Linked DNA regions of Homo sapiens: region 1 is linked to region 2. The links are contacts of gene promoters, found by promoter capture Hi-C in blood cells and fetal thymus (Javierre and others, 2016). All regions are on one chromosome and are shown on one strand. The core of a region is centred on a gene start or on the middle of the fragment in contact, and the rest is flanking DNA. Distances in the headings are between cores, read along the strand shown. Region 1 overlaps ATXN7 (ataxin 7). Region 2 holds the start of NGLY1 (N-glycanase 1).

Region 1 (2,700 bases), core at 158-2,657, about 38 Mb after region 2:
CTCCTGCAAGTTTGCCTGTTTGCTGCGAATAGGCTAATGCACAGTTCAGAACTCCCTTTGTGCACTAGAGTAAAATTGACATGTGTACACCATCCAAACCACAGCTGATACATATAATTTTCGGTCAGTGAGGCACGGATGTTATTCTATTAAGATGTTATTTTAGTCTGTAGTATTTTTTTAGTCTGTAGTCTTAATTTTTTTCTTAGGGAAAAAGAAATATGACCATGTCCCCAGACCTAGACAATTAACGTCTGAGCCATCATTGGGATATTTAATATCAAAATAAACTTTATTTGGATAGGATATCGAGAAACGGTTTGAAGAAAATTGTGATAATGCTTTACAAGCAGAACAAAGCAGTATTTGCTTAAACATTTTATTCAGGGCATTAAGGGGGCACATGTGAGTGTTTAAAATTTTAATCTGAGCTTTGTTCTCAATTTCTGTGTATGTGTACAAAATTAATATTTTCCTGGCATACACGACCATTCATCCCTTTTCTGATGTAGGTCTTAAAAATAAGTTAAAATTCGTTTTTCTCTTGTTTATTTGTGAACTTAAATATAGACGTTTGTTTGTAGCATTTAAGAACATTTGCTAAAATTCACCCTGGTTTTTTACAGGGTTGCAGAACGACTTGATTCTTAGAACTGTCTTGGATTGGCTGACTCTCATAACGATATTTTTCCCCACTGTATTTCGTACAATCACTGTGTACGAAAGGGAATATTAGAAAGGCAAGCATTTGTGCTAGGAAGGCCAGCAAGGACTCTGGTGTTCTGTCATACAAGTACAGTGATAGGGAAGTGAGATTTAGCTCCAGAAAGATCCTCCTACCCTGTTCTTTTCTGCTATTGATGGCATTAAGGAGATTCCTTGGCTACCCCTGCAGGGAGGGCAGGTGAAGTAGGGTGAACAATACTAAGACCTGTGGCAATCAGGTTTTACAGCCATGGAATTTTTTTTTTCTAGCTTAAGAAAAGCTTCAGTGAATTAACTTAAAATTCTTATTTTCGCTTATGAGCTTTTAAAAAGATTTGGGAGATGTATCCTCATCCTGTGCTTCTAAGGCTTGCTGATGGCTCTTCCCTTGCGTTCTTCTAGTGTCTTCTAAGGGCTTCCATAGTTTTGGATTGTATGAACGTTACTGTAAGGAATCTGGGGGAAAAAAAGTGGGTTTCAGAAAACCCCCTGGGTCTTAGTATTGTTGACATGGGTTGGGATCTGAATCCTTGTGAAAATAGGGCAGTGCAGCTACTGTTCTTCTGTTTTAGAGTCAATTTAGAATTTGGTCTAATAGAAGCCGTTTTCATGCCTCTCTCAGAACTCTTCCCCGCACCTTTCAGGCTAAATCATTTCCACATATGTAATTCATGACTTTTGCCAAATATTCTGTATGGGGTGATAGGATTCTGTAGAAGAATCTTTTGCTGCTTCTTTTGACATTTAAAAGAGTTCATTTTGAACTATCAGGTATCTAAGTCATTATTATCATAAAACTCAGATCACTTGGCAGTTTTTTCCATGTCACTTGTGGGGATTTTTTGTTGTTGTTTTGTTTTTATTAGAACTCTGTCACCTGGGCTGGAGTGCGGTGGCACAGTCATAGCTTACTGCAGCCTCAAACTCCTGGACTCTTGCCTCACCCTCCCAGGTAGTTGGGATTACAGGTGTGAGCCATTACACCCCATTCTGTGTCATTTGACAGTAGATTTGTTGATTGGCCAGAGAGAGGGAGTGTGATAGGGATGATAGGGAAACAGGCCAGGAAGACACTGTTTTCAAGGGGGCACTCAGTGAGAGAAATTCTTGGATTTAAAAGTATGAAAGCTTTAGTCAGTCCTCTAGTGATTGAACAACAAACTGGACAAATGTGGATATGAAATTATACATATTTTACAAATATGCACAGAAAGTGGGTTCAGATATTTTGTTACTAGATTTAGGAAGGAAAAGTATGCTTAGGAATAATAAACTTTTTTTGAAAAGCTTAGCAACTGTAGATAGTATAGGGGAAATAAAACCTGGAAAAATGCTGCAGGTATTTTATAGAAATGTTTAACTTTAAGACCTTTAGGTCTACCGAGACTTAAAATGTAGGTTTTTAAATAAATCATGTAAGTTTTGTAATATACCTGGTAGTAGCTTTGTCAGTTTAAAGGTATTCAGAAAAAAAATTCACAAAATATAAGTAATTTGCATTTTAGCAGGTTAAACTTATAAATTCCATCTTCCCCAGTTTTGACAAGTTGCCTTTCCAATAGAAAGATTAATTTACACCAGCCAGGACGCCTTGTATGACCATATTAGATGAAATTAGACTCCACCCCCTGTTTTCTGTTGATCTGCCAGGACCTTTGTAATTCAAGTGCTTTTTACAGTAGTAGCAAATGTTACATAAGCCCAAACATGGAGCATATTTGGAGTTGGTGGGCAGACCCAAATCATGATGCAAGCCTGCAGTAGCAAGTGTGCAATGAAGCACAACCAAATTCTGTGAATGGAAGGTAGCAAGACGCCTCTCCAAAGCAGCCCTTCTGCGCAGGAGCTGAAAGCTCCACTGGGTAAGTTTTCTGAGGCAGTTTTCAGAGTCTGGGCTTGGCTCAGGGCCCAGCTCTGGATGAGCCTGTGGACGGTGGGGTAGGTCTTTGCTAACCTTACATAGAACCAAGCAGATTTGGGAAGAGTTTATGCAGG
Region 2 (2,700 bases), core at 171-2,670:
TTGAGAAGGTGTCACAGAGCACGAAGGTGGTCCCCACACAGGTCACAATTATGTAGCTGTGAACAGGCCACATGTTGCATCTTTCATAGCATCTGCCACAAAATAAGGGCTCAATATATTTTCCCTTCAATTTACTTTAAAAATCATTACCATTGCCTAAATGAAATATTACTGACATGGATTTTAAAAACTGCACATGTAACTAATGTCTAAAATTGGGTCACGTGAAACCTATAACCTTGAAACTGAGAATTTCCTTTTAGACTTCATGACAATATACCAAACACTTAATGCACCAGGGGCTGAGGGGAACAGAGAACCTAATTAATCACGGTGACCTGATAAATGAGGTAACACCCCTAAAGCAAGTGGCTCTCCTTTAACCTCAGTTCCATTTCCCTACCCCCCCACACCATGTCCCTTCAGATCATTTGATCTGAAGAGTTGAGGTGGGTACTTATTCAAAATGAATAATCAAACTTGCCTCCCAATTCCCAAAATCTGCAAGGTCCCTTAGACCTCTAGAAGTGCAATTTTGCTGACAGGAGAATGAAGGAAATTACTCTCATCCAAGGCGATTACCTCCACGAATTCTTAAAGGGTTATGTTACATAGTAGAATCCAGGTATTAATATAAAAACTGTAACTTCAAAATACTATAATGTTTCAATCAACAAAAGTGGGCAGAAAAAAAATTAAAAATTTTAAAACCCACCACTTCAGAAGCATTATGCTTTAGTACTCGGATAGTCTCAACATGGGAAGAAAACATCACTTTGTCAGTGAGTAACTTCTGATAAGTATGTGGAAATGTAAGCCACTCCGCTCGAAAAATGCACGCAGGGGGAATGACACGCGCGGTGCGGTTACCGTTGTGTCCCGATATCTGAGGCCGTTAAACGACGAGAAGAGCGGCAGTGTCTGAAGCACGCCTTCCTACCTCTCCTCCGCCCGGCCCCGCTTCCGGGACTCCAGTTCACCCGCAGCACCCTGACTGCAGGTGCCAAGTCACAACTGCAAAGAAACTTCCTTTTCTCGAGCGGGGGTGGGACTTGGCCGGGTCCCGAGGCCCCTGGCCGGCGGGCTCGGACGTTAGGAGCAGAACCAGCTCCAGGTCCCGGTCTGTCCGGGCGTCGCTGCCCTCTGAAGCTCAGGCCGGACGCCCCAGTCCCTGGCCGAACAAGGTGCCGCGGCCCACCCACCCCGGTACCCGCCGTCCGACCCCGTTGCCCTGCACCTGAGGATGTTGTCAGCATAGGTGAGCAGCAGCTTGGAGGCCTCCAAAAAGGTCTCCGGGGTGTTCTGGCAGAGCTCAGCCACGGCCGGGGACGCCGAGCCTGAGGAGCTGCCCAATGCCGCCGCCGCCATGCTTGAGCGCCAGCGGGCGCCGCCGCCGCCCCTCGCTCTCCGCGTCCCACACTGAGCAGGCGCCTCAGCGCGCAGCAGCTACCGCAGCCACCGGCAGGGGCGGGGTCCTCGGCCGGCAGGGGCGGGGTCCTCGGCCGGCAGGGGCGGGGTCCTCGGCCGGCAGGGGCGGGGTCCTCGGCCGGCAGGGGCGGGGTCTTCGGCCGGCAGGGGCGGGGTCGGGGGCCTGGGGCGGGGTCGGGGACCGGGGCCAGGAGCGGGGGAGCTCGGCTGGGAGCTACGGCTGCCCCTTCGCGGGGGGCAAGGGGCTGTTCGGAAGAAGGTGGGGGGCCTCGGCCGGCAGGGGCGAGGTGCTTCGACCCAGAGTTGGGGCCTGGTCGTACAGGTTGGGAAGGGGTTCCGCAGGGAGAGGCGGGGCCTGGGCTCCGGGGCTGAGGGGTGTGGGCCTGGAGGAGGGGGATGTCGAGTCCTTTAGGACGGAGGAGCTCGGCTGGAGGGGAGGCCGGCTTTGGTCTAGAGGTATCGGGCGAATGGTGCTGGCACGTGCCTCTCAGAAACCCGGATCCCTTTGCGCTCCGGGGCCAGCCTAATTGATCCAGCTATTAAGGTGGAGAAACCGCATGTACCTCCCTCCTTTCCCCACAAATAAAACCACCTTAGAGCCTTCTCTTCGCAGATTGTCAGGACGTTCTACATAGATGTGGATGAAAGACTACAGAAGGAAGGAGCAACAAACGTCAAAAACAAAACCATGGCTATAAACTCTGCTGGGTTTGTTATATGGATTCTTTTCAGAATTTGGCTAATGACTGAAAATCTAAGTTCCAGCTCAACTAGTATATGATTCCTCTGTAAGGAAGTGTATTTTTAAACCATAGGTTGCGACATAATAATGGGTTGTGGATTCGGTTTACCGCGTGGTGACCAGCGTAAAACACATGCATAATAATTACGCAATATTATAGAATGTCGGGGGCGGGAAGGGAATAAAAATTTGCATCCCACACAGTAAGGGTAAGTAATATTTTGTGACTTGTTTTTTAGGTAGATCATGTGATCAAGGTCTTTTATTCCTCTTAGAAGATGCATCCCTTACTACTTTAATCCAGTCTCTTCCCCACCATGTTCTTGAAAGTGTACTTTACCAGTGGCTTCCTTCTTTGCAGAAATTCCTTTTCAACCTCACGAAGTATTTTTCTTGACTTTATTTCTTAAGATAAGTGATTTGCCTGAATAACCTCTTTTAAATTTCTTGATGTTTCATCTGTTTACTTTTAAGAATTGAAATTTTCTTCCAGAATCTCCGAACAAGACCCTAAGCTATGACATCCAGTT

The links. The method cuts DNA at HindIII sites, captures the fragments that hold promoters and counts their contacts. A CHiCAGO score of 5 or more calls a contact.
Region 1: a fragment that was not itself captured here is called in contact with the fragment with the promoter of NGLY1 in region 2 in 1 of 17 cell types (naive CD4 T cells); the score reaches 6.1 in naive CD4 T cells.

Annotation. Positions count from the first base shown.
Region 1 is chr3:63,965,409-63,968,108 of GRCh38, forward strand. All of the region lies in intron 5 of ATXN7 (ataxin 7), which reads left to right. Among named protein-coding and RNA genes, the nearest start is that of PSMD6-AS2, 37 kb to the right of the region's middle. The HindIII fragment of the contact is 847 bases long and covers 985-1,831 here.
Region 2 is chr3:25,782,023-25,784,722 of GRCh38, forward strand. NGLY1 (N-glycanase 1) reads right to left here and starts at 1,421. Exons shown (of 12, transcript NM_018297.4): 1 at 1,238-1,421. The coding sequence starts at 1,368. RefSeq lists enhancers at 771-850, 1,011-1,060 and a silencer at 1,371-1,610. The HindIII fragment of the contact is 11,918 bases long and covers 1-2,700 here.